Regions from separate parts of the Homo sapiens genome. Here all the other regions are linked to region 1. Evidence: promoter capture Hi-C in 16 types of primary human blood cells and fetal thymus (Javierre and others, 2016). All regions are on one chromosome and are shown on one strand. The core of a region is centred on a gene start or on the middle of the fragment in contact, and the rest is flanking DNA. Distances in the headings are between cores, read along the strand shown. Region 1 holds the start of MATN1-AS1 (MATN1 antisense RNA 1). Region 2 overlaps PEF1 (penta-EF-hand domain containing 1). Region 3 has its middle 28 kb from the start of LINC01226. Region 4 overlaps SERINC2 (serine incorporator 2). Region 5 overlaps ZCCHC17 (zinc finger CCHC-type containing 17).

What was found. The method cuts DNA at HindIII sites, captures the fragments that hold promoters and counts their contacts. A CHiCAGO score of 5 or more calls a contact.
Region 2: a fragment that was not itself captured here is called in contact with the fragment with the promoter of MATN1-AS1 in region 1 in 2 of 17 cell types (neutrophils and non-activated CD4 T cells); the score reaches 6.9 in neutrophils.
Region 3: a contact is called between a fragment that was not itself captured here and the fragment with the promoter of MATN1-AS1 in region 1, in 1 of 17 cell types (total B cells). The highest score is 5.8, in total B cells.
Region 4: a contact is called between a fragment that was not itself captured here and the fragment with the promoter of MATN1-AS1 in region 1, in 5 of 17 cell types (non-activated CD4 T cells, naive CD4 T cells, naive B cells and 2 more). The highest score is 6.3, in non-activated CD4 T cells.
Region 5: a fragment that was not itself captured here is called in contact with the fragment with the promoter of MATN1-AS1 in region 1 in 1 of 17 cell types (total CD8 T cells); the score reaches 5.9 in total CD8 T cells.

What each region holds. Positions count from the first base shown.
Region 1 is chr1:30,715,206-30,720,842 of GRCh38, forward strand. It overlaps MATN1-AS1 (MATN1 antisense RNA 1), which reads left to right and starts at 3,567. Exons shown (of 4, transcript NR_034182.1): 1 at 3,567-4,360. MATN1 (matrilin 1) reads right to left here. Exons shown (of 8, transcript NM_002379.3): 3 at 3,530-3,752; 4 at 1,585-1,710; 5 at 704-1,120; 6 at 1-104. RefSeq lists silencers at 2,790-2,969, 3,010-3,529, 4,090-4,179 and enhancers at 3,590-3,759, 3,857-4,432. The HindIII fragment of the contact is 4,958 bases long and covers 334-5,291 here.
Region 2 is chr1:31,636,459-31,642,095 of GRCh38, forward strand. The region is part of intron 1 of PEF1 (penta-EF-hand domain containing 1); the gene reads right to left. Among named protein-coding and RNA genes, the nearest start is that of PEF1-AS1, 4.9 kb to the right of the region's middle. The HindIII fragment of the contact is 1,755 bases long and covers 2,608-4,362 here.
Region 3 is chr1:31,543,244-31,548,880 of GRCh38, forward strand. No RefSeq gene overlaps it. Among named protein-coding and RNA genes, the nearest start is that of LINC01226, 28 kb to the left of the region's middle. The HindIII fragment of the contact is 5,837 bases long and covers 126-5,637 here.
Region 4 is chr1:31,416,160-31,421,796 of GRCh38, forward strand. All of the region lies in intron 1 of SERINC2 (serine incorporator 2), which reads left to right. Among named protein-coding and RNA genes, the nearest start is that of SERINC2, 5.8 kb to the left of the region's middle. The HindIII fragment of the contact is 1,435 bases long and covers 3,184-4,618 here.
Region 5 is chr1:31,299,914-31,305,550 of GRCh38, forward strand. All of the region lies in intron 1 of ZCCHC17 (zinc finger CCHC-type containing 17), which reads left to right. Among named protein-coding and RNA genes, the nearest start is that of ZCCHC17, 5.7 kb to the left of the region's middle. The HindIII fragment of the contact is 6,162 bases long and covers 451-5,637 here.

The DNA.
Region 1 (5,637 bases), core at 2,317-4,816:
GAAGTCAGCCGTGTAGAAGTAGTGCTCTGCCACAGGCTCTGAGGCTATTTCCCTCAGCTCATCCTCCACGGCATTGCCCACACCCACAGCAAACATCTTAAAGCCTGCCAGGAGGAACAGGAGAAGTAAGGCTGGACATGGGGATGGGCAACCATATGGCTGAGCCTCCTGGGGAAGGCTTAGGCAGCCAACACCAGACACCTCCTGCTGGCAGCTGCTGGAATTGCAAGCACAATGCCTGGAACAAGGACAATGAGAAAATCAATATTTACTGAGGTTCTGCTCTGTGTCAGACCCTATAGTGACTTCCTGTACTGGAAGCTTTGTACAGCAAGCTTCATTTAACCCTAATAATCATCCATCTGGTGGTTATTTTTTCCTCATTTAATAGGTTACAAAACAGACTCGGGCTTGTTCCAAAGTAGAGTTGCCTTCCAATAGTTGATGTGTTCTTGGGAATATCCAGCTGGAAAAGTTCCAAGCCTCACTTACAAAAGGACCATCAAAACAAGCCACTTACTTTTCTGGGGCCTCAATTTTGTCATTGGTATAAGAGAGAATTGGACTAACCAATCCTCCTCATTCAAACTCACCTGGGTTTAGGGCACTAATCAGACGACACCAAGATAAACTACAGTTGGGCTATACCCGTGTGTACCCCTGGCCATCAGTGGTGTCCAGGGTCCAGGCAGGCAACACCTACCGAGGTCTTTGGCCTTCTTGGCAGCATCATTAATGTAGTCCTGGCTCCGGCCATCAGTGAAGACAATGCCCACCTTCTGGGCCCCGGGCCTAGCCCCACTGGACACAGTGAAGGAATTGTCAATGAGGTACTTGAGAGCAGCCCCAGTCATTGTGCCCTTCTCCATGTAGGACATATTCCGCACAGCCGCCTTGATGTCCTTCTTGGTGTGGAAGCGACCCAGGGGGAACTCCTGGCGCACAGAGCTTGAGTACTGCACCAGCCCCACCTGGGCCAGCTTGTCTGACACGTCCAGCGTATCCACGATCTGACTGATGAACTTCTTCACCAGCTCAAAGTTCTCTGGCCTCACACTCTTGGATCCGTCAATGAGGAAGACCAGGTCAGTGGCCGAGCTGCCACCACCACCACTGCAGACTGTGGAGGACAGGAAGGCAACGGGCTGAAGCTGAAGGACATAGTCAACCATCCTGCTCCCCGGCTGGACACCCACCACACACCAAGCTCTGTGCTGAGGATCATTACATTGTGCCCTCAGAACTGCCTCTATAAAGCCAAGGTGACTGGTCCCACTGTACAGTATTGGAAACTGAAACTCCAATAGCTGTGAGATCACACAGCTCAGAAGTGGTAGCACCAGGATTTGATTTTGAGACTATGTGAGTCCTTCTACCACACTAAACCCACCGCCCATTGTGTTGAAAACAGGGACAGAAGTCAGGTGAGAACTTCTGCAGATACCAAACTCTAAAAGGCATCTGTCTGCTTTGAAGATTGGTTCAGAGGTATGGTGCAGGGAGGCTTGAATGGGTTTCCTGGGGAGGCCCCATCACCTCCCCTCCACACCCTCTCCAGGGCGAGCCTGTGTCCACCCCACTGACCATTGCAGGTCTTGCCGTCGCTGTTCAGAGTGAAGCCCTCGTGGCAGGCGCAGGTGTAGGAACCGGGGGAGCTGATGCACACCTGCTCACAGTCATGGTCCCCTGTGGCGCACAGGTCTGACACCACTGCGGGGACAATAAGTAGCTCAGATCTCACAGTCATAGTGCCTTGGGCACTACAGACAGGTTGTCCCTCCCTGACTGTGGATACCAGGCCCCATCCAGACTCAGGGAAACTAAGATCTCCAACATACTGGGGCCCAGGCCCCCGACTCTCAGCCCACGTCTGGAATCATTGCACCAGTGCCTAGATCCCTGAAGAAGGTTATAATGCTGATGATAAGAATGAAAAGTCTCACTAAAAAGGTAAAGGCCAAGGGTTAGGGCCTTTAGTCTGTTTAGTTCACTGCTGTATCAAGACACCCAAGTGTCTAGAACAGCATACAATGAACACAGCACCTATCTGTCAAATACCATATAATGAGGGTTACATTTTGCATTATCTCACTGGATCCTCTCAATAACGTGCATGCTCTTCTTAGACCCATTTTACAAATGGGTAAAGTCCCTGCCCTAACCCTGATCCTGTCCTACTGGACACCCTGCCCCTGCGGGTCACATCCCAAAGACCCACACACACACCTCCCCTCCGAGAAGGGCTCTGAACCTTCTCCTGCCAGTGCCCAGGCCTCTCAGACTCTCCCGCATCACAGAAAACTCTGGCACCCAAAACTCACGACACAGAAACATGTGTAGGTTTTCTGGGAGCTCTCCTTCCTGAGCTCTGGGCCCTCCTTGGTCCCTGCCAGGATTCTGCCACATAAAAGGGCTCTGTTGTTTTTTGTGTGTGCGGTTTTTTTTTTTGTTTTGTTTTTTTTTTGAGACGGAGTCGTCTCGCTCTGTCGCCCAGGCTGGAGTGCAGTGGCACGATCTCGGCTCACTGCAAGCTCCGCTTCCCGGGTTCACGCCGTTTTCCTGGCGCAGCCTCCCGAGTAGCTGGGACTACAGGCGCCCGCAACAACGCCCGGCTAATTTTTTGTATTTTTAGTAGAGACCGGTTTCACCATGTTGGCCAGGATGGTCTCGATCTCCTGACTTCGTGATCCGCCCGCCTCGGCCTCTCAAAGTGCTGGGATTACAGGCGTGAGCCACCGCGCCCGGCCATAAAAGGACTCTTAACATCGCCTCTCCCCAACTCCCTTAACCTGGGGCTGGAGACCCTCCTCCGTTATCAGGCTCCGCCCCAGCTACGGCCCCACCCCTGGTGCTGGCACCACCTCAGTCTAATCCAGGTTCCACCCCCAATCCACCTAAGCCGTGTCCCTAGCCCTGGCCCCGCCCTGATGTTGCCGTGTAACTCAGTTCCCGCCGTTTTATAGGCTACCGCCCCAGCCAGGCCCCGCCCTCTGATGTGGCCCCGCCCCCCGACGCTGACTTTTTCTGTCTTCACTTTAGCGCTGGCTCCGCCCCTAGCCTTGGCCCGCCTCAGCGCGGACTCTCAGTCTCTGCGCCTGCCACGGCCTCGTCCCGCTCAGCCCTGGCCCTGCCCCTGGAGCCGACTCTCTCCGCCTCCGCCCCGGTCCCGCCCTGGCACTGACTGTCTCCGTCTTCGCCCCTGCCCTGGCCCCGCCCCCTGCCTGCTCTGGCCCCGCCCCGCCGCTCTCTCCGTCTCCGCCCCTGCCCTGGCCCCACCCTTGCCCCGCCCCGGCGCTGACTCTCTCCGTCTCCGCCTCCGCCCCCGGCTCCTCCCCGGCCCCGCCCCGGCACTGACATTCTATCTCTCTCCCGTCTCCGCCTCTGCCCCCCCCCCGGCCCCGCCCCTGCCCTGCGCCGGCGCTGGCTCCGTCTGCGCCTCAGCCTCGGTCCCGCCTCCAGCCCTGGCCCCGCCCCGCCGCTCTCCCCTTCTCCGCCCCTGCCCTGGCTCCGCCCCCGCCTGCCCGCGCACCGCAGAAGGCCTCCTGGAACTTCCTGGACAGCTTCTCGATGACGCTGTAGCTCTCCACGTAATCGACGTGTTCGTCCTGCGGCTCGCTGGCGATCTGCCGCAGCGTGGCCTTGTCCACGCTGCCCACTCCGATGGCGAACAGCTCGACGCCGCTGGCCCGGGCCCGCGCAGACACGTCCTGCACGCTGTCCTGGGGCCTCCCGTCTGTCACCACGATGACCACCTGCGACACGCGGGGCGGTGTGACACCGGGCTCCCGGAAGCCCACGGGACTGTCCAGGAGAGGAGGCTGAGGCCCGGAGAGGCGGGAGGACTGCCGGGTCGCACAGCCAGGCGGCACCCGGGGGAAGAGGACCCGGCTGGCCGAAGAGGAGACCCGTTTCCTCTGACTGAGAGACGTGGCTGGGGGGCTTTCCATCTGCTTCGCCTCCCTCGGGCAGGCAGCTCTGAGATGCCCGGAGGGATGTGATGCCCCATCGCCAAATTGGGGTCTCTAAGGTCAGGGCCATGCCTTCCCCTCAGACTGAGGCGGCTGAGGGCAGGGTCCTCAGGCTGATGGCTGTGGGAGTCGTGCCACGCCCCTCGTGCCCCCGGGAGGCCCGGCCGGGGCTGGGTGGGGGGATCCGGTGGTTCCACATGGTGCAGTTCTGCGCTTTGGCCACCAGATGGCAGCCGAAGCTAAGGGATGGGGCTGCCGTCTCCCGTCTTGCTGTCCTTGTCCCGGTAAGACCGGGGACCCTGGACCAGGGAACCGACGGAGGGCCACTCCCATGTGGATGCCCAAGGGACCAACCCAAGAAAGATGCCGCCCTTATCCTCCTCCACTCCCCGGTATGATACATGCCCCTGCCAGAGAGGGAAAGAATCTGCCTGCTCCCCTCCCACTAGGCTCCTCTGGTCTGTACCCTGGAAAGAAAGAGGTGGCGGACTCTGTCACTGAGATCCGGCTTCGTGACCCCCTGTCTGCACCCGCCCTGAGGCTAGGGCGCTCCCAGCTCTGCCCAGTCTGGGTTAGGCATCCAGTCCCGCTTTGCTGCTTCTCTGCTTCTGACTTGGGTCTGTTTCTGATTCCTGGGTCCCATCCTTAGCCCCAGGTCCTGACACCCTGTCCTGATGACAGGCAGTTGAGACAGGCCGTGTTTAGAAATGCAGCTCCACAAGCTACAGGTCACCTTCCTGAGCCTCAGTGTCTTCAACTGTAAAAAGGGTTGTGGTGAGGTTGAGTGAGATGACTCCTGGTTAGAAGCCAGAAGGGGCAACTATTATTTTTACCATCATTACCCTGGGCTACCTGGGGAGTGACTTTGTACAATCTCTTCCTCTCCAGGGGCCTGGGCTCCTGGCTCTGAAAATCTAGCTGTGACTATTCGCTGCCATCCCGAGGCCCACTGCCTCCTCGAGTCCCTACTCCCCTCCCTGCAACCCAGCTTTCAGATTGTCCACCTTGCTGGGTCCTCCCACAGGTGAACTCCAGGCTGAACACCTGGAGTCTGGTGCCAGCTCCCCCAGCGCCGCTGTGTCACCTGCTGGAGGAGCTCTCTCCTCACTTGCCCACCCCACGCCACCACCCCCATCTCCTTCACCCTCTCCACCACCTCAACCATCAGCTTCATCTACAGCACCCCGTGCTGAAACTTGTAGTTGGCCCCAAGACCGACAGGCTGCCTGATACGTCATTTCTCTAAGGGGTGGTAATGGCTGGGATTATATGCTGTTGTCTCTGTGAATGCTTTTCCCACTTATTGGCTGAGCAAGTTGCTTAAGCTTCTTATGCCTCAGTTTCACCATCTGTAAAATGGGGATACCACCTCCGAGCAGAATCATGTTCATTTATCCACTGTGTGCTAGAGAGTGGGGTATGGAGGAGGGATAAGAAAGAACCTCCCCTGAGCTGGGGCCCTGAGCAGGGAAGTGGCGACTCGGGCTAACGAAGGCTGCAGTGGGGAAGTGCTGGAGCCTGTGGGGGTGCCACAGGAACAGAGGACACCTGGCTTAGCCTCAGGTTCTGTGCTGAGCCCTGAACATGACAGTGAGGATACAAGTCCTGGGAAACGCTCAGCCCTCTGCCTGGAGCCCTCACTGACAGCACAGGTGGCAGCACAGCCCTT
Region 2 (5,637 bases), core at 2,235-4,734, 920 kb after region 1:
AGAGTAAGATCCGATCTCAAAACAAACAAACAAACAAAAAACAACCAGTTCAAGAGTTCAAGTTCAGGTTCTGCCATTTACTAACTGGACTGACTTATCCTCTCTAAGCCTCAACATCTTCTGCTATAAAATGGGAATAATAATAGCTACCTCTCAGGTTAGTTTGTGAATGAAATGAGGCCAGCTATGTGAAGCCCTTTGACATTGGGCCTGACACAAATTAAGCACTCAATAAACACTATTAATAATAGCCTCCTACAGAGGACAAGACTCAAGTCCAGGAAAGTCACACACAGGCTGTGTGGAGGGGCTGGGACCAGAACCTGGGTCTCTTGGCTCTATGTCCAGGGCATTTGTGCATTAGAGCATACATGGGGGCATTCCCTCTCTCATCCATCTTCCCACACCAGTAGCCCTCGGAGTGTTCCGCTCCATCTCCCTAAATGGCTAGCACAGGACCCAGCAGAGCACAGCCCCAACACATCTGCAGACAAGCTGAGCTCAAGGGCACAGACAGCAGCTAGGCCCAGCTCCGAGAACGGCACCATCTAGATACGTTCTAGATCAACCTGTAAGTGCACCAGTGGCCAAGCCACTGAGAGCCTGGGCTTTCTCTTTTTATTGTGTTTGATAGCTTGAAATAATTACTCTTAAGGCTAAGGCCAAATTCATGAGGTTTTTTTGTGGGGAGGGCAGGAAGCAGGCCCTGTCACCCACTCAGCAATCCTTGGGAGCTTTTCTACCCTAGAAGCTGTCATAGCTACTAGCAAGACTCCTTCACAGACAAGAATGGCTCACACAGATCTCAATTTAAAACTCTGCTCCCATCAGCTAAGTTCATGACTGTGGGCCCGTGGCTTCATCTCTCTGAGCCTGCTTCCTCACAAATAGAACAATTCCTTCCTCACTGGACTGTTCTGCAGATTATAAAAAATAAATGCAGCAAAATTCTGTCAGTTTAATTTTTAGCTAAAGAATCCTTTGATAACCAACCTGGGCAACATAGTAAGATCCCACCTCTACAAAAAATTTTTAAAAATCAGCCGGGCATGGTGGTACACATGTAGTCCCTGCTACTCGGGAGGCTAAAGCGGAAGGATCACTTGAGCCTAAGTTGGAGGCTGCAGTGAGCTGTGATTGTGCCACAACACTCCAGCCTGAGTAACAGAGGGAGACCCTGTCTCCAAAAAAAAAAAAAAAAAAAAAAAAGAGAGAGAGAAAGAAAGAATCCTTTGATAAAATAAATAAAACAAATACAAGAAAGTTGCTCTGGCTGAAGTAAGGTGGGAGCTCCAGAGCCCCTACAATATGGAACCCCCTCCCTTGCTACATTCTGAGGGGGCTCTGAAAACCCCTCACAGTGACTGAAAAGACAGTCTGAAAACCACTCACATAAGAAAAATAGTTTTTACAACAGTGCCTGGCATAAAGCAAATGATCAGTAAGTCATAGCTGCTATTGCTATATTAATTACTGTTATCAGCAAAGTCCTGGGCCAGGTGAACTGTGCGGGGTGGGGTATAAAGGAGAGTGAAGCAATCTGAAGGCACTCACAGTTAACAAGACTTAACATGTAGACACTGTGTAACGTCTAACAAAACAGCATAAGGAAAACAGGTGTTTGAAATGGAGACATAAGTCATGTGCCATAGGACTGCAAAGGAAGGAGGGTAAAATCAGGGAGTGTTTCCATGAGAGTGGCATTTGAGCTAGGACTTAGAGAACGAACAGGATTCCCAAGGGGTTGGAGAGGTGTGACAAGAGAAATACCCAGAAGACAAGTCACTTAACCTAACCCCCATTTTACAGATGGGGGAGGGAGGGAGGGACTTGCCCAAGTAATGCTGTGAGCTGGAGGAAGAGACAAGGCTGGACCACTCCCTTGCACCCAATGACTCCCCCTGCCTCCTGCTACAACACTCCTTCATTAAGCAATAGGGCTCAGGATTCCAGCATAGGATGGAAAGGGAGTGGGAACTCTGCAGAATCTGGGCACACCCAAAGAACAGGCCAGACACGAAGCCAGAAGTAGCTGCCCCACTATAAGCCCTGTGAGCAAAGCTATAAACCGCACCTGGCACCTAGGAAAACCCACCTAGGAAACCACCTATAAACCACCTAGGAAACATCCCCAGGCCAACAAAGCAGGTGCTGCCAGGCAGGTCTCCTGCCCTTCTGGCTATTGTAGTCTGGCAGCAATTAAACCCTTTCCTTTCTGTCCTGCATTTGAAGACCTCCTCTGTAGTTTACAAAGTACTTTCACAAACACAAACACTACAGGCAGAATCTTGCCAATGGCCTCCTAACAGAAAAAAGGAAGATGTTAGTTGCCCTCTTTTACAGATGAAGAAACTAAGCCACGGAGCTGTTAAAGGACTTCATTCAGCACGCATTTTCAGAGTGACAATATTGTACTAGGCTCTGTAGTAGATCTGAGGACACAAGTAAATGAAGTCCTGCCCTTAAGGGGCCCACAGATAATTGTGATACAATCTGATCAGTGCCATCAGAAAAATCTACTTATGTGCTATCAAGGAAGCTTAGATGGAGGAATTTGTGCTGTTTGCAGAATGAATAAATGAACAATGTATGAAGTGGGTCAAGGAAAGCTTCCTGGAGGAAGTGGCAGTGATATTGGAAATGGTCCTTGAAGGATGCATAGACATTTTCCAAAAGGCAGGCAGGGAAGGACACTCCAGACAGAAGAGAGAAGAAAGACAAACGCACAGACTTAAGAGTGAGCATAGTGCATTCAGGGAATGAGTTAAACCGCAGAGCCAAGAATGCAGTGTGAACCCAGAAAGGCAGGCCCTCTATACACTCGTTGACCAAGCACCTCTCCCCCTGCATTTCAGTTAGCCGTGAGGTATCAGTGTCTAAGAGTAGTTTCTGTCTAGCATCTCCCCCACCCAACAGTAAGCTCCCCAGGGGCAGACACTGCGCCTCACTCATCATGGCACCCCAGGGCCCAGCACAGTGCCTGGCACCTGCAAGCCTCCACAAATATTTGGACAAATGAACACCACTCTAAAGAGTTTTGTTGGGGCTTTATGCCGGAGAAAACAGAGCACTATAGAAGGGTTTCCAATAGGAGAGGAACGTGATGAGAACCTTGTTTAGAGAAGTAACCAGCGGCGGTGTGGAGGATGAGCCAGTGAGGGAGGCAGTAGCCCAGGTGCTGGGCAGGCAGGGCATGAACCAGACAGCACACTTGGGGATGAAGAGAACGGAATGGATTCTGAAGCTATTTCAGAGATAGACCAGACATGACTTGGTGACTAATTAGATTAGGAAAGAGATGGAGGAGGAGTGAGGAAAGTGTTCAGAATGACTCGGGTTTCTAGCTTTTGCACAAGATGAAGGAGGTGGAGCCAACTGAGACAGAATGCAGGCTGCACAGGAAGTTTGGGGAAGAAGATGAGGTGGTCCCCACCTCACAGAGGGTCACCCAGTGTCACTGAGTTGTTAGCAAAGGTCTGAACCAGAAATGAAAAACAGCATCCCTGACTCCACGTTCTTTTACACTACTCCATGCTCCCAGCCCTTTTTAGAGTTTTTCCAAGAGTTATTTCATACTGATAAACAGGATTGTGAAGGCAGGTGGAGGGGAAGGACAGGAAGAGTTCAGTAACTGCAGCTTCTGAAGCAACACAGAAAAACTATCTCTAGGGCTCTGGCTGATTGCAAATAAGCTACATCTGATGCCCTGGGGGGACTGGGGGCAACAAACATTTACTGAGGCTCTGCTAGGTGCTTCCAGTTCAACCAGCTCTCACTAATCCTCAGTCCTGTGAGGTAAACAGTGTCATCTCCATTTTGCAGATGAGAAAATTAAGGGGCAGAGAGTTTAATAACATGCCTGAGATCATGCAGCTAGAATGGGCAAGTTGGGATTCAAGTCAGGGTCTGCATGACTCTACACTACCCCCTTCTGTTTGTTCACTCAATAAATGAGTGAGTGCCTAGCATGTGTCTGTGTGAGGGACTGTGCTAAATGTCTTTGTCAAATATAATGAATTTCTACTGTGGACAGAGGTAGAGGGGAAGGCTGGATTGGGTGATCTCTCAGAGCCTTCAAGCCCAGAAATCAGGGACTCTTAGAAAAATCTCATTCTTTTTCGTCCCAGCACCTAGAGTCACTTTGAGAGCCAAGCCACATTTTGGAAGACACCCCAAAGACTCTTCAGTTCAACCTCTCAGTTAATAATGGAATCTCTGCAGAACCACCTGGAATCTCTACCTGCACTTGCGCAAGCAGTAGGGAGCTTACCTCCTCCCAAATAACCACCTCAGAAAGTCCGGTATTTTTTTTTTCTTTCCAGTTCTGAGGACTCAAGTCTTCTAACCTCAAGACCCCTGTGAAGCTTAAAGGTATCAACGGCTGTTCCAAGCTGAGCCCTGATGACGAATGGAGGAGGGAGCATTGCAAAGACAAGTTTGTACCCCAGAGCTACCCTTCAAGTGCACAGGAGGAGGTGGGAAGCCCAAACTAAGGGGTTAAACAATCACAGGAAGACAAGAGGAACAGTTCAAGCATTCACCAGCAGAGCCACTTGAAATAGGAGAGAAGCACGCAACCAATAAACAATGAGCCAAGAACCATCCCCAGACTTCAATTACCTCTGTGCTCACACTTTCAAATCTTTCCAGCTTCATCACTCCTGAGCTACAGACCCACATATCCAGCAGCCTACTGGACCTTCCCTCCAAACCCATGCCTCCCTGTGTTCTCATCTCAGTGAATGGAGCTCCGTTCTGCTTAATCATCCAAACCTAAGGCCAAGTTTTCTCAAATCTACCTCCCAAGTGCTTCTCAAATCTCCTCTACCAGGTCACAGTTCTCTTTAGCCTAGATTACCTCAATAGCGTCAAAACCGGTATCCCTGCCTCCTGTCTCTCCTGCTTCAATCCATTCTCACAGCACCCCACAGTAAGCACTCCAAAGCACAAATGGGACAAAACACTTCACTGGCTCCCTCACTACTCTTAGGATGAAGTCACACTCCCCAAAAAGGCATACAAGGCCCTTTGGGATCTGGCCCTTGCTTACCTTTCTAGTCTTATTTCCTACCCCTTTCCCCCACATCACTACAACTACACTGAACTTCTTAAAGTTCCTCCAAAATACTAGGCTGTCTTACCTGCTTCATGGGCTTTGTGCAGCTATTTCCTCTGCTGGAATAGCATTCCTTTCTTCACTCAGCTAATTTCTACCAGTGATTCAGTTGTTGGCTTAAATATCACCTCTTTTAAAAATGCACCCCTAGACTGAGTTAGGTATCTCACTCTCCCGTGCTGTACCTTACACTTACTCCCATTGAATACTTATCACATTGCCTCTTCAATCTGCATAACTGCATTACTCCTCCACTTGGAGTATTCTACATGCCCAACACCATACCTAGCACTTTACGTGGATTTTCTCATTTAATCTTTAGAGTAATTCTGAGGTAGATACTATTATGACCCCATTCTAAAGAAGGGAAAACTAGTCCAGGCGTGGTGGCTCACGCCTGTAATCCCAACACTGTGGGAGGCTGAGGCAGGTGGATCACCTGAGGTTAGGAGTTTGAGACCAGCCTGGCCAACATGGCGAAACCCCGTCTCTACTAAAAATACAAAAAATTAGCCAGGTGT
Region 3 (5,637 bases), core at 1,794-4,293, 830 kb after region 1:
GTGTTCACCGGAGTAGCACTTTCAATTTCCTTCAAGAACTTTTCCTTTGCATTCTCAACTTGGCTAACTGGTGCAAGGGACCCAGCTTTCGGTCTCTCTTGGCTTTTGATAGGTCTTCCTCGCTAAGCTTAATCAATTCTAGCTTTTAATTTAAAATGAGAGGCATGCAATTCCTCCTTTCATTTGAACACATAGAGGCCATTGTAGGGTTATTAATTGACCTAATTTCAATATTGTTGTATCTTTGGGAACAGGGAGGCCTCAGGATGAGAGTGATGGGGGAATAGCTGGTCAGTGGAGCAGTCAGAACACACACAGTATTTATTAAGTTTGCCATCTTGTATGGGTGTGGTTTATGGCACCCCCAAACTTTTACAATAGTAACATCCAAGATCACTGATTATAGATCACCAACACCAACACAGACATAATAACAATGAAAAAAAAAGGTGTTTTTTTTTTCTGAAATGGATTCTAGCTCTCTCGCCCAGGCTGGAGTGCAGTGGTGTGATCTCGGCTGACTGCAACCTCTGCCTCCTGGGTTCAAGAGATTCTTGTGCCTCAGCCTCCTGAGTAGCTGGGATTACAGGCACCCACCACCACACTCGGCTAATTTTTGTATTTTTAATAGAGAAATGGCCTCGAACTCCTGACCTCAAGTGATCCACCTGCCTCGGCCTCCCAAAGTGTTGGAATTACAGGCATGAGCCACCGCGCCTGACCAATAATAAAAATGTTTGAAGTATTGTGATCTCGCTGCTGTTTCCCCACTTGTGCCCAGGCAGTGGGGTTCTGCAGGAGATCTTCTCTGTGCCACCCCTCTTCCCTTGCACCCTCTATGGCCACATGTGAAACACCTTTGACAGGCTCTTCTTGAAGGAAGTACAGCTGCCCAAGCTGAACATAGGCGGTTGTCTGGTCTTCCCCTCCATGGGCACCTACATGTCCTCATTTCATTCAGTTAGTGGCCCCTGCGTTGTTCTAGAAAAGGGTTTGGATGAACTATAGGTGCCTTCTCTAGTGGTGAGAGCTCTGGCTTTTGGAACAAATCCAGGCTCTGCCACATACTAGCAGTGTGGTCAGAGCCTCAGTTTCCCCCCCATGAAGTGAGGATGATATGAGTATCCCCCTTGCAGGGTTGTTGAGAGGGTTAATGCAGATAATGCAAATCCTTGCTGAACATCAGTCCGTGTCCAGGGCCCTGCCTCTGGCAGGCCCTGATCCTGGCCTGACCCTCAGAGGCCGCCCCTGCCTCATGGTCTGGCTGTCCTCAGAGAGCACACACAGCATCTGACCATAGCCAATGGGCCAGGTGCAGGGTGTGCCTCAGAACTCACCTTGGCCTTGAGAAGCCCCCAGGTTGGAAGGTGTGATGAATGAGGTGTGGATCCAGCCAATTCTAAAATAGAGCAGATGCTACAGCATGTCTCCCAGGCACTTTAAAACTTCAAAACTACTATTTGGGGAGTTCTGAGCTCAGAAAGAGAATGTGCCCTACAAGGATGGACATTGTCAGAGATGGGGGTAGGTGCACATTAGGATGACCAGCCACATCCCTGCAGTGCAGGGAGGGCAGTGGGCCCTAGAGGCTAAGACCACCTCCATCCTGTCCCCTTTATAAACTTCACCTGCTGAGGGAGTTATCTGAATGACAGCCTCTGCAAACAATCCTCCCCATCTGCCAGAGTCAGCCCCACCAATTTTGCTGCTACCTCCTCAGCTCAGCCAAGGCCAGAAGGAATCATTCAGCACCCTTGGGCTGAAGAGAATTCTCCCTCAGACATCTTAGGAGCAGGGGTGAACTGCAGATGCTACCCATAGAAGCCAGAGGGGCCTTCAGGCTTCAATGTGTTACTCATCTGGTACCCTCCCAAAGCCTGCAAATTAGAAGTAAAAACATCCACCCTTACCCCTCAGAAGTGTTTGGAAGTACAGATATGAGTGAACTTTAGGGAAAACATAACATTTTATTCAGATGCAAGAGATTCTGGTGTGTTTTGTTTGCCCTATGGGTACTGTCTTATGAGATTGTGGATATCCATCCATCCATCCATCCATCCATGCATGCATCCACCCATCCATCCATGCATCCATTAATCCATCCATCTATGCATCCATTTATCCATCCATCCATTCATCTATGCATGCATGCATGCATCCATCCATCCATCCATCCATGCATCCATCCATCCATTGATCCATACATCAATCCATGCATCCATTTATCCATTCATGCATCCATCCATCCACCCATGCATCCATCCACCCATCCATCCATCCACGCATGCATCCATTTATCCATCCATGCATCCATCCATCCACCCATGCATCCATCCACCCATCCATGCACACATCCATTTATCCATCCATGCATCCATCCATCCACCCATGCATCCATCCACCCATCCATCCATCCATGCATCCATGCATCCATGCATCCATCCATCCATCCATCCATCCATCCGTCCATCCATCCATGTATCCATTTATCCATTCATACATACATCCATTCATCCATCCGTGGATCCATGCATCATCCATTCGTCTTTGCATGAATGCATGCATGCATCCATCCATCCATCCATTCATCTGTTCATCCATCCATCCATCCATGCATCCACCCATCTATCCATTCATTTATCCATCCATGCATCCACTTATTCATCCATGCATCCATGCTTCCATTTATCCATCCATGCATCCCTCCATCCATCCATTCATCCATGCATCCATCCATGCATACATACATCCATGCATCCATCAATCCATCCATGCATGCATCCATCCATCCATCTATCCGTCCATCCATGCATCCATTCATTCATCCATGTATCCATGCATCCATCCATCCATCCATCCATCCATCTATGCACGCATGCATCCATCCATCCATTCATCCTTCCATCCATCCACGTATCCATGCATCCATCCATTCATCTATGCATGCATGCATCCATCCATCCATCCATCTATGCATGCATGCATGCATCCATCCATCCATCCATACATGCATGCATTCATCCATCCATCCGTGAATGCATCCATCCATCCATGTATCCATTTATCCATCTGTGCAACCATCCATCCATCCATGTATCCATTTATCCATCTGTGCAACCATCCATCCATCCATTTGTTCATCCATCCATGCATCCATCCATCCATCCATCCATCCATCCATGTATCCATTTATCCAACCATGCATCTATCCATCCATCCATGCATTCATCCATCCATCCCTCCATGCATCCACCCATCCATCCATGAATCCATCCATCATCCATCCATCCATCCATCCATCCGTCCATCCATGCATGCATCTATTCATCCATCCATCCATCTACTCAATAAAAGTGTGAGGTCCTAGTCTTCCTGGCACTGCTCCAGACACAGGTAACACATGGTGAACAAGATGGGTGAGAACCCACACGTGTGCAATTTACCTTCCAGTTGGGAGAAGACGGCATAAAAAAACATATAAAGAAACGATGAAGTGGAAGCATTGGTGCTGTGAAGAGAAATTAAACAGGATGAAGGGATAGTGAATGGTAGAGGGCGGGGCTACTTTAGGTAGAGGGGTCAGGGAGGCTTCTCTGAGGAGAAGAGACTTGAAGGGAAGAGGGAGGGGCTGTGCGGTTGGCTGGGTCGCAGCTACAGGCATTGAAACAGCAAGTTCCAAGGCTGGAATGGAGACTGTACCAAAAAAAGGGGGGGCGTCAAGGAGTCCTGAGTGGGTGAGCAGAGTGAGTCAGAGGGAAGTGTAAGGAGATGAGGCAGGAGAAGGGTCCCCACTGCTCCTGTCAAGCCTTGTTGTGTCGGGACTTGAACTTTATTCTAAGCAGGTGAATGCGGTGCATGCAAGAGAGACAGAGAGAATGTGGCAGGACCAAGGAGGAGGCTATGCCACTTATGTCACTCCTGGCAAAAATAAGGGGGCATGGAGTAGGCTGTTTGTGGTGCAGATGGTGAGAGCAGTCAGGTCCAGCACAGATTTTAAAGGTTGGACCCAGAGAATTTGCTGCAGAATCAGATGTGGGGTGTAAGGCAGAGAGGAGTCAAGGGCAACTTCAGGATTTGGGGCCGGAACTGCCATTAGACAGACAGGGACACTGAGGGAGAAGCAGGTTAGGTGGGATTAAAATCAAGAGTTCAAGTTAAGTTTGAGCAGCCTGTTAGACCTCCAGCGAGGGCCAGATAGAAGAATCTGGTTTCCAGGGAGAGGTCAGGATGAGAGATACACACGTGGGAATGATTGGCATTGGGTGGACTTTATATTCTCTGGGTCAGTGAGACAGCTGGGAAGTGACCACGGATAGAGAAGAGACAAAGTCACAGAAACCAAGAGAGGTAATGTTGCAAGGACGGAACACTCAACTCTCAAATGCTGCTGAGACGTGGGCTGAGGGCTGAGAATGGAATTGGGAAGAACCGAGGTCACTGGTGATCCTGAGGGTTTCAGTGGCAAGGGCAGGTGGACTGCAGTGGGGCCCGGTGGGGATGGGTGGAGCATGGGCCCCTCTCCCGGAGAGTTGCACTGTAAACGAGGGCAGACATATGGGAGTGCAGCTAGAGGGAGGGAACGTAGGGTCAAGGGAGAGTTTATTCTGAATGAGAGAGATCACAGCTTGTTTTTAGGCTGACGGGCATGATCCATAGAGGGGAAAGTAATTAAGATGCAGAAGAGAGGCCGGGGGTGGTGGCTCACGCCTGTAATCTCAGCACTTTGGGAGGCTGAGGTGGGTGGATCATTTGAGGACAGGAGTTCGAGACCATCCTGGCCAGCATGGTGAAAACTCGCCTCTACTAAAAATAAAAATAAAAAAAAATTAGCTGGGTGTGGTGGAGGGCACCTGTAGTACCAGCTACTTGGGAGGCTGAGGTAACAGAATCGCTTGAACCCTGGAGGCAGGGGTTGCAGTGAGCTGAGATTGTGCCACTGCACTCTAGCCTGGGCAACAAATTGAGACTCCATCTCAAAAAAAAAAAAATGCAGAAGAGAAAGGTGAGACTTGCCAGGGCAAAACCCAGGGTGGTGAAAGGGCTTGGCACCCTGTGCATGAGGGAGGATGTGCCCTCAGTGTGTACCTCTGTGGTACCTGGGTGGTGCTGGTTGGTGGAAGATTTGGCATCCTGAGAATGCGGCATTTTCGTCTGATTCTCTTTTCTCAGTGAGATAAGAACCAAGGTCACAGCCAATAGCCAGGGGGCAGGAGGGGGTCTTGGTGAGGACTCGAGGAGAAGAGGGATGGGGGTGGGAGAGTTAATGGGCCGGTGAAGCCTGGTTGGGTTGCCGGAAGCACAGGGGCCCATTCCAGGTTTGTGGGGTCACCTTGGAGTGAGGCCAGTCATCTGATGTACCTTGTCCTCAGCCACATGCAGCTGCGTGGGTGCAGCAGCAGAATGGGTGGAGGGCTTTGGGGAAGAGCCAACGTGGGCGGGGGGCGTGGCTTGGAGTATGAGGTGGCCGTGGGCTCCCTGCAGGCCCAGGCTCCATTTACGGCCAGCTGCCTGCTGTCCTCGCCCTGCTCCGGCATGCTGTCTTTCCACATCCGTTACCCACTGCGCGCTCATAATGCTCCCACTTTACAGAGGCCATTTACTCTGGCCACCTAGTAGTTGGTGGCAGAGTTGGGATTT
Region 4 (5,637 bases), core at 2,651-5,150, 700 kb after region 1:
GCCCCTTAGCCTGTTGTGAGGATTAAATGGGACTGAGGTTAGCACAGCTGCATATTTAGCACCAAGCTGGTGTGCAGTGGCCGGTCCATAAACACCCCACAGTAGTACATGACTCAAGACTACATGCAAGGAAGTGCTGAAGCCAGTGAGACCCAGGGCTGCCTAACTATAGAGCCTGGGCTCGGAGCCCCTGTACTCTCCTACCCCAGGAGATCATTTTACAGATGAGGAAACTGAGTCCCATGGAGGGGAGGAGAGACTTGCCTGAGGTCAGATTACAAGCTGTGGCAGAGCCAGCATTAGGACCTGCATTCTTGGCACTGCATGGGGGAAGTAAGTGCACCTTGGGACATTTCCGGCTGACCTCTTCTCTGCTGTGTTTTGACTAGCCCTGGGGCGGCTCAGCCAGTTACGGAGTTGTTCATGAAGGCGGCAAGGTGCATGCTTGCCTGGGCCAGTTTTGCATTTTTTAAACTGTGACGAAATACATGTTAAAAAATTTACTCTTTTAACCTTTTATTTTAGTCTTCAAGGAGTTTGTATGTTATTTCATTTTATTTTATTTTACTTTATTTTTTTGAGATGAAGTCTTGCTCTGTTGTCCAGACTGGAGTGCAGTGGCACCATTCTGGCTCACTGCAACCTCTGCCTCCAGGTTCAAGTGATTCTCCTGCCTCAGCCTCCCGAGTAGCTGGGATTACAGGCGTGCGCCACCATGCCTGGCTAATTTTTGTGTTTTTAATAGAGACGGGGTTTCACCATGTTGGCCAGGCTGGTCTCGAACTCCTGATCTCAAGTTATCCACTGGCCTCGGCCTCCCAAAGTGCTGGGATTACAGGCATGAGCCACCACACCCAGCCTGTAATTTATTTTAGAAGACATGTATATTAAAATGGAGATCTAATAAATACAACCCTAATAAAAATTAATCCCAAACGAATGGCATTGTCAGAAGGAGTAGTGCCAACTAAGGCACACGGTAACTCCAGAACATCTTCTTACTGTCAGCCCTCATCTGGATTACTGACAACAGCCCCTGACTCTCCTCCCTTCCCCCAAAGATACCACACACTACCCCATGACCTGTCTTTTTGTGATCAAAGTGATATTTCTAAAATGCAAATCTGCTGTCATTCCTCTTCTTTCGCAATCATTCCCCATTGCTTTCAGGGTGAAGTCCAGACTCCCTGGCATGGCATACAGGGACATTGACCACCACTTCCGTGACCTCTGTAGCTTTTCTCACCCTTTCAGCTGCCCTGAAAATACAGTGTCCCTGTAGCTCTGCATGTGTCATTCTCTTTGCTGGGAATACCCTTCTCGCCTCTTCCTGCTCTTCTTTGAAAACTCCCTGCCCCCTCCCTTTTAAAAAAATTGAGGTAAAAGATGCATAACATAAAATGTACCATTTTAACAATTTTTAAGTGTAGCATTAAGTACATTGACACTGTTATGCAACCATCACCACCATCCTTCTCCAGAACTTTTTCATCTTCCCAGACTGAAACTCCCACTAAACAGTAACTCCCCAGCCCCTCGTAACCACCAATTCACTGCTTTTCTCTATGAGTTTGGCTACTCTCTCCATCTAAGTGGAGTCATACAATATTTGTTCTTTGGTGTCTGGCTTATTTCACTTAGCATAATGCCCTGAGGGTTCATCCATGTTATAGCATGTGTCAAAATTTCATTCTTTTTTTTTTTTTTTTTTTTTTGAGACAGAGTCCTGCTCTGTTGCCCAGGCTGGAGTGCAATGGCACAATCTCGGCTCATTGCAACTTCCACCTCCCGGGTTCAAGCAATTCTCTTGCCTCAGCCTCCCGCGTAGCTGGGACTATAGGCACACACCACCATGCCCAGCTAATTTTTTTGTATTTTTAGTAGAGATAGGGTTTCACCATGTTGGCCAGGCTGGTCTCGAACCCCTGACCTCAGGTGATCCGCCCGCCTTGGCCTCCCAAAGTGCAGGGGTTACAGGCATGAGCCTCCGCACCTGGCCTCATTCCTTTTTAAGAACAAATAATATTCTATTGTATGGATATGGATATACCACATTTTGTTTATCCATTCATCTCGTCCACCAATGGACATTTAGCTTGTTTTCACCTTATGACTACTGTGAATAATTCTGCTATGAACATGGGTGTGTAAATATGTGAGTCCCTGCTTCATTTCTTTTGGATATATATCCAGAAGTGGAGGGCCACTTTATTTTATTTTATTTTATTAAATTTTGAGACGAACTCATGCTCTGTCACCCAGGCTGGAGTGTATTGGCGCGATTCAGCTCACTGCAACTTCTGCCTCCCGGGTTCAAGCGAGTCTGCTGCCTCAACCTCCTGAGTAGCTGGAATTACAAATGCCTGCCACCATGCCTGGCTAATTTTTGTATTTTTTGTAGAGACGGGGTTTCACCATGTTGGCAGGATGGTCTCAAACTCCTGATCTCAGGTAATCTGCCTGTGTTGGCTTCTCAAAGTGCTGGGATTACAGGCATGAACCACCACGCCCAGACAGCCAGTTTGTTTTAAATAGAAAAATTCATCCAGCCCTCAGCTGCCTCCCTTACCCACCCAACACCCTATGAGTGGTTCTAAGAACTTCTGTCCCTGGCTCTGAGGACAACCAGGAGACAATGTGAATGACTCAGTGACAGCCTGTTCACATAATGCCAAACGACTCATGGCTCCAGAGCTGTCTGCCTTGCCTTGGGAGGTAGTGAGCTCCTTGTCATTGGCAGTGTGCAAGCAGCAGAGGATGGCCAGATGCTTTCTGGGTGGTTCTTCATTGGAAAGAGAATGGATTGGTTGAATGCCAAGGAACCTTGCAGCTGTAAGGCTCTGAGGCCTGGGGCTTCTTAAATTCTGAGTTCTCCATTCTGAGAACCTGGGCTGGTACTAAGATTCAGCCACTGTAAGTGTTCTGGGGCTTTTCTGTTGCTGCCCTTGAGTGCATCTGCAGGAAGAGGGGAGTGGTTGTAATCGTAGTGTGGGAACAGCTTTCCAGTCTGCCTTCCTTTCACACTGCATCATGAGCATTATTCCATGTGGCTCTGTAGCCAGGGAATTCATCTTTCTGGCTCTGTAGCATTCCATGGAGTGAAAGGGCCACGGCTGTCCCCAGGTGTTAGACATTTAGGTTTTTTGTAGTTTCTTGAGACTCCAATAGGCTCACAAAACCTAAAGCTTATTTAAGTTTTTTCTTTATATAAAAATCTTTATTTTTATATTTGTAAATTTAACTTAATTGAAGTATTATTTGTATACAATGAAATGTACCCAAGTTAAGTGTTACCTACATATTTGCCCCATTCAGCAGAGAAATCCGTTTTATGGAATACCATGATGTATTGATGGGCGTTTTGTTATTTTCAATTTTCCCCTAATGGCCAGGCATGGTGGCTCATGCCTATAATCCCAGCACTTTGGGAGGCCAAGGTGGGAGGATCCCTTGAGCCCAGGAGTTCAAGACCAGCCTGGCCAACATGAGAAAACCCTGTATCTACCAAAAAATACAAAAATTAGCTGGGTGTGGTGGTGCATGCCTGTGGTCCCAGCTACTTGGGAGGCTGAGGTAGGAGGATCGCTTGAGCCCAGGAGGTTGAGGCTTCAGTGAGCTGAGATCACACCACTGCACTCCAGCCTGGGTGACAGAGCCAAATCCTTTCTTGAAACAAAAACCAAGAAACCAAAAAGAAAAATTAGCTGGGCATTGTGGCTGGTGCCTGTGGTCCCAGCTACTCCGGAGGCTGAGGTAGGAGGATTGCTTGAGCCCCGGAGGTGGAGGTTGCAGTGAGCCGAGATGGTACCACTGCACTCTAGCTTGGGTGACAGAACGAGATCCTGTCTCAAAAATTTTTCCCCCTATTATTTTCCTATTATGATCAGTGCCACAATGAATTTCCATGTGTTTGTATATATGTGCACACATCTGCCCTTACTCCAATGGTCTGGCATTTCTGTAGGAAGAGATTTAAATATATATAAAATGACATTTTGGTCAAATGGAAGAGGTTCTTGTAGGAGCCATTCTGGGGTGGGGTGAATGGAGCAAGGTGGACAAACATTTCCAAGGATGCTCTGGAAGCAGTGTGTGTTTTTCTCTTTGACCTGGTCTCTCTGGCTGCTGATCAGGCCCTTGGAAATCCTGAGATTTCAGGCATTAGGAACACCTGGATTTTGATGTTTAAGAACCAGAGCGAACTGAAAGGCCAAGCTCTCTGAAAGCGGAACAGCTTTCTTGTGTCTCAGATGTCTCAAATTGAAATTAAATGGTAACAAGCCAGCATCAGGACCTGACAGGGCACCTGGGCACCTGGCTCCTGAGATCAGTACCCACTGGCCTCCCTTGGTTTTCTGGTATTGGGTTTTTTGTTGTTTGTTTGTTTGTTTTTTCATCACTGGGATGTATTTAAATTAAATAAGATGACCATCAGTGAATTAGCGAGCTGGAACTAGTGTAGTCCTGTAGGCAGAGCCTGGCCCTTGGTGCACACAGATCTGAATTTGCATCCCAGCTCCTCAGCTTACTTGCTGTGTGACCTTGGTCATGCCACTTCTCTGTCTCAGTTTTCCCATTTGAAAATGGAAAGTTACCACACAATTCATAGCATCAGTGAAGCTTAATGTAGATAAAGTGCTTATCACAGTGCCTGGGACTGAGTAACCCTTCGTAAATGGTAGCTGCCACTAATACTACTTGAATCTCAGTGCTGTTATCAACTTGCTGTGTGACCTCTGGTAAGTCTCTTAGTCCCTCTGGTCTCAATTTCCACGTCTGTAAAATGGGACTAATAAGCTGCTCTAACTGATACCCAGAATGTTCTTTATAGCAGGGGTCCCCAACCCCTGGGCCATGGACTAGTATCTATCCATGGCCTGTTAAGAACTGGGCCACACAGCAGGACGTGAACAGCAGGTGAACAAGCATTACCGCCTGAGCTCCGCCTCCTGTCAGATCAGTGGCAGCATTAGATTCTCATAGGAGTGCGAACCCTATTGTGAACTGTGCATGCGAGGGATCCAAGTTGCGTGCTTCTTATGAGAATCTAATTCCTGATGATCAGAGGTGGAACAGTTTCATCCCAAAACCATATCTGCCCCCTGCCAGCACCCCTGCTGCCATCTGTGGAAAAAGTGTCTTCCCTGAAATTGGCTCCTGGTACCAGAAAGGTTTGGGACCACTGCTTTATGGCCTCTAAAACATTTTTCAGGCTTTTCTTATCCTCTCACCCACCAAGGACAGCCATGGATAGGAGGCAGGTCTTGGGGTGGCAGCTGCAAGATGTAACCAGAAGTTGCTGGACAGGTGGACTGTTTCAATTTAGACCATGAGGAATAGTTTCGTTTCCAAAGCATTTTGTTTAGCATCTGTGTGAACGAGAGATAGGCGAGGAGCATTTCTAGTTTGGGGGAGAGTAAGAGGGGAGGCAGATGCCCGCCAGCAGGGTGTGCTGTGTGCCTTGTGACCAGTCCAGAAAGAAAAGCAGAGGTCTCTGAGGAGCAAGGGGCCCCTGCCAGCCTGCTCTTTTCAAAGCTCATCTTTCAATTCCTGACCCTTGGCTCCAGCCCCTCGAGTGGGTGCCCACCGCTCTTAGGATGAAAACCAGTGTCCTGTTCCTGACTGCTGGTGCCTATG
Region 5 (5,637 bases), core at 2,282-4,781, 580 kb after region 1:
AGAAAATAGAGGCCAATAAATCAGGGTTCTAATGAGGTCAAAGAACAGTATTCTCTGCTAGAGGATTTCTGTTTATCCTAAAAGGCTTATTCAGTTATCTGTTTAACTTCTCTACTTCCCCCAGACCCTCTTTCTCTTCCTAGCTACTACTTTTGTTTGTTTGTTTTGAGACAGTCTTACTCTGTTGCCCAGGCCGATTGCAGTGGCATGATTATGGCTCACTGTAGCCTCGACCTCCCAGGCTCCAGTGATCCTCCCACCTCAGCCTCTCCAGTAGGTGGGATAACAGGTATGTGCCACCATGCCTGGCTAATTGTTGTATTTTTTATAGAGATAAGGTCTTGCCATGTTGTCCAGGCTGGTCTCAAACTCCTGGCCTCAAGTGATCTTGCTGCCTTGGTCTCCCAAAGTGCTACGATTATAGGCATAAGCCACCATGCCTGGCCCCCAAGCTTCTGCTTTAGCACTTATCACATTGCAGTGTAATTGGTGTTATTTTGTGGGTTAGGTGTTGTTCCTGGAAGTTCCGCCAAAGTCTGTTATTGCAATACATCCCTTTCTGCTTAAGTGGGTTCTGTTGTCTGCAACTGTCCCGGGCTAGGTTAGACATACTGCCAGATAGTTAAATATAAAGACAGAGTTAAAGGGAGTTTAGAGTGTTGTTGGAATGATGATATCTGATATCCCTATCAGATTAGGAGGTCTTTGAGAACAGGGACTGTGTTGAAAAGGGTGGTTTAGGCCGGGTGCTGTGGCTCACTCCTATAATCCCAGCACTTTGGGAGGCCGAGGCAGGTGGATCACCTGAGGTCAGGAGTTCGAGACCATCCTGACCAATATGGTGAAACCCTGTCTCTACTAAAAATATAAAAATCAGCTGGGCATGGTGGTGTGTGCCTGTAATCCCAGCTACTCGGGAGGCTGAGGCAGGAGAATCGCTTGAACCTGGGAGGAGGTTGCAGTGAGCTAAGATCGCGCCATTGCACTCTAGCCTGGGTGACAAGAACAAAACTCTGTCTCAAAAAAAAAAAAAGAAAAAAAAGGGTGGTTTAGTGGCAAGTGTGTGTGGCCCTTGGAATGGCCTAAGATTTGTCTCTTTCTTGCTGTGTTGTTTTGGACAAGTTATTTCATTCCTGTAAAATAGGATTACTTGCTTTGTAGAGGAGTTTTAGGGATTGAAAGCAGGTTTATAAAGTACCTTATATATAAACATCAATCAATAGCATACTGAATTGATGAATTAACAATTTAAATGGGGTAAAATTAAATACTTCACTATTTTAGTAGACAATTTCCATGTGTGTTACACTGTGCTAGGCACTGGAGATTTGGGGAGGAAGGATATGATGATGTGCAAGACAAAGGCATGCTTACAAGAGTTCCACACTCTACAAAGGGAGGAAAAAAATGTCCCTAAAAATGATTTGAATCCCATCCCCATCATTCATATTTTGCAATCTTGAGCGAGTTTACTTAGCTTCTCTTGTGTCCTCATTTTTAAAATGGCAATGATAATTGCCTGTTTTATGGGATAGTCAAGAAGAGAATTATTGAATGTCATGAAGATAAAATTTTAAAAAGAAAAATTAGTTAAGAGAAGTAAAGCTCTTAGATTAATACATGGCAGATATGAAGCACTCAAATATTAGCTATTATAAGACTTTGAAGGGATCTTAGGAATAATTGACTGAAAGTGTAGTGTCGAGTGGTAGAATAAGTGCTGATCCTGGGGTCTTATACCAATGTTGCTAACTGTGAGCAGCCTTTGTCAAATCACTTGGCTTCATTTTCAGTGGCCTAAGAGTAATAGGTTTAATTATTTCCATAATTCCTTTAAGTTTTTACATTTTCTGAGTTCATCTTTTGTGTTTTTCCTGGCATTTTACTATTCCTCTTTCCTGCTTTTGGCTATTTTCTCAACAGGTCCACGACTGGAATTTGAAAGCAAGAAGCATCTATCTTACATGGTCACTCTAGAATTTGGTGGGAGGGAGGAAAGTTGGACCACCAGTTTGACATTTGAAAGTGTCCCGGCCGGGTGCGGTGGTTCACACCTGTAATCCTAACACTTTGGGAGGCCGAGGCGAGCAGATCACTTGAGGTCAGGAGTTTGAGACCAACCTGGCCAACATGGTGAAACCATGTCTCTACTAAAAGTACACAAATTAGCTGGGCATGGTGTTGCATGCCTGTAGTCCCAGCTACTTGGGAGGCAGAGGTGACAGAATCACTTGAACCCGGGAAGTGGAGGTTGCAGTGAGTCGAGATCGCACCACTGCCCTCCAGCCTGGGCAACAGAGCGAGACTCCATCTTAAAAAAAAAGAAAAAAGAAGTGTTCCATCTGTTGATCTGTCCAACATATTAAATGGGACCTAGCTCCTTCTTCTTCTATATCCTTTAGACCAGAATGTGTTCCCCCCTCTTTCTCTACCTGTGCTTGGCATATAGTGAGGCTCAGTTCACTCATTTAAAAAAAACTGAGTACTTGTAGTATACCAGACCCCAGGAACACAAAATCAAATGAGAAATGGTCCTTGGTTTCATGTTTGAATGAATGGATCCAGACGTTGCTCATCCTAGCTCTTCCATGAATGATATCCACATTGATTCCTCTAATGTTGGGACCTAGTTAGTGTTAGAGCTATATTCTACAAAATTTAGATTTAGACCGTGTATTAGCCCATTTTCACACTGCTCTAAAGAACTCCCTGAGACTGGGTAATTATAAAGGAGAAAGGTTTAATTGACTCACAGTTCTGAATTGCTGGGGAGTCCTCAGGAAACTTATAACTCATGGCAGAAGGTGAAGGGGAAGCAAGGCACGTCTTAAGTGGTGTCAGAGGAGAGAGAGAGAGAGCAAGAGAAACTGCCACATTTAAACCATCAGATCTCGTGAAAACTCTGTCACTATCATGAGAACAGACTGTGGGAAACTGCCATGATCCAGTCACCTCCCACTAGGTCCCTCCCCCAACATGTGGGGATTACAGTTCAAGATGAAATTTGGGTGAGGACACAAAGCCAAACCATATTCGATTGTGAATTCTTTTTGAGGTATAGTGCTTAAGAATGCAGGCTCTTGGCCGGGTGCCATGGCTCATGCCTGTAATCTCAGCACTTTGGGAGGCTGAGGTAGGAGGATTGCTTGAGCCAGGAGTTCAAGACCAGACTGGGCAACATAATGAAATCCAGTCTCTACCCCCCCTCAAAAAAAAAAAAAATTAGCCAAGCTCGTTGGTGTGTTTCTGTCCCAGCTACTTGGGAGGCTGAGGCGGGAGGATAGCTTGAGCCCAGGAGGTCAAGGCTGCAGGGAGCCATGTTTGGACCATTGCACTCCGGCCTGGACAACAGAGTGAGACCCTGCCTCAAAACAAAAAACAAAGCAAACAGTGCAGGCTCTGGAGTCATTATTCTGTCTCTGTTCATATCCTAGTAGTTTTAGTTAGCTTACTTTGCTCACAATTCCAGCACAGCTTAAAGATAAACTAAAATTCCTTTAAATTCTTAGGGTTCTAGTCAATTAGTACTCAAGTAACAAAAAAATCTAAATCCAAACAAGCTGGAAAATGATAACAACAAAAATCTTGACCAGGTCAGTAAGGTGACACATTAAATGAAGTTCCAAAAAGGCTATAAAATGTCTGGCCAATTTAATATTGTTCTTTAAACTTTTCATTGCTTGGGGGATAGGAGGACAGGATGTGTAGGGTTTTTTTCCCAGTTGCATGTGTACTTTAAAATTTTTTTTTGAAACTATCACATAATTATGGAAGCATGTACAGATAACATTTTTCTGAATTATTTGAGTTAAATTGCTGACCCAATACCCCAACAGCCCTGAAAACTTTTTTTCCTACAAACAAGGACATTCTCCTCTATAGCCACAGTGTAATTACCAACATTATGAAATTAACATTGCATTACTTCTTTGATCCTCAGGCCCCACCTCTTGATGCTCGAGCTCTGACTACCCATTCTGGGCTGCTCCAGTGTGTGCCTTCATCACCTTATTCTTCCCTATATTGCAGTTCTCTTTGTAGATTTCCTCCTCACCCAGCTTAGACTCTGACCTCACTCTGGGCCACCATTTCTTCTCCTGTATCCTTTACTTCCATCCCATACTTTCCTTTCTCTGTCCCTTGTTTTGGAAAGAGAGTGGCTAGTAATTGGTCCCCTGTTGCTTCCCTATGTAACACAGTTGTTTAAAACATGCAAGCAAAATGCTTTGTTCTGCATTCAGAGCTATTGCAAGGCAACTCCAAATGGTGTACCTCAATCCTTGTCGACTTACTGGCTCTTTTAAGTGTATGAATGTGGTCCTGTCTGACTGACTGTATCTATCTTAATGTTATATACTCTTTTTTTTTTTTCTTTCTGAGACAGAGTCTCTGTTGCCCAGGGTGGAGTTGCCCAGGGTGGAGTGCAGTGGCATGATCTCGGCTCGCTGCAACCTCCACCTCCCATGTTCAAGTGGTTCTCCTGTCTCAGTCTCCCGAGTAGCTGGGATTACAGGTGCCCACCACAATGCCCAGCTAATTTTTGTATTTTTAGTAGAGATGGGGTTTCATCGTGTTGCCCAGGCTATTCTCGAACTCCTGGGCTCTAGTGATCCACCCGCCATGGCCTCCCAAAGTGCTGGTATTAACAGGTGTGAGCCACCGTGCCTGGCTCAATGTTATATACTCTTATTTTTTTTTTTTAGACGGACTCTCGCTCTGTCGCCCAGGCTGGAGTACAATGGTACGATCTTGGTTCACTGCAAGCTCCACCTCCCAGGTTCATGCCATTCTCCTGCCTCAGCCTGCCGAGTAGCTGGGATTACAGGTGCCCGCTGCCACGCCTGGCTAATTATTTGTATTTTTAGTAGAGATGGAGTTTCACTGTGTTAGCCAGGATGGTCTTGATCTCCTGACCTCGTGATCCACCTGCCTCAGCCTCCCAAAGTGCTGGGATTACAGGCGTGAGCCACCACGCACGGCTGTATACTCTTTAAAAGTAGCAGAACTCTTTTTTTTTCCAAGTGAAATCTTACACAGAATTTTAATATGTAAACTGGATCAAAGCAGAATACGTTGTTACAGTAGGCACCCTTGCAGTAATTCTCACTCACTCCCCCTTTCACTGTGGCCCACCATAAGGTTGGGAGATTAACTGTGAATCAGTAATAATTGACCTTTGCCTAATTACTGAGGAGAGGCTTCTACCCAACTGCTCTGAGTGGGACTTCTCCCAGCTCTAGTTTCTTTGGGGGTTCTACTCCCTCAGCCTTTGGTATGGAGGCTCACCTCTGGTTGGTTGACTTAGAGGCAGCCTCACTGGTCTGGGACCTTGTGGTGACCTAGATATTTCAGAGTTGACTTTTTTTTTTTAATTTCTTTTTTTTGAGACAGGGTTTCATTTTGTCTTCTAGGCTGGAGTGCAGTGGTATGATCACGGCTCAGTGCACTCTCCATCTCTTGGGCTCAAGTGATCCTCCTGCCTCAGCCTCCTGAGTAGCTGGGACAATAGGCAGGTGCCACTATGCCGAGCTAATTTATTTTATTTTTTGTATTTTTAGTAGAGATAGGGTTTTACCGTGTTGTCCAGGCTGGTCTTGAACTCCTGACCTCAAGCGATCCACCCACCTTGGCCTTCCA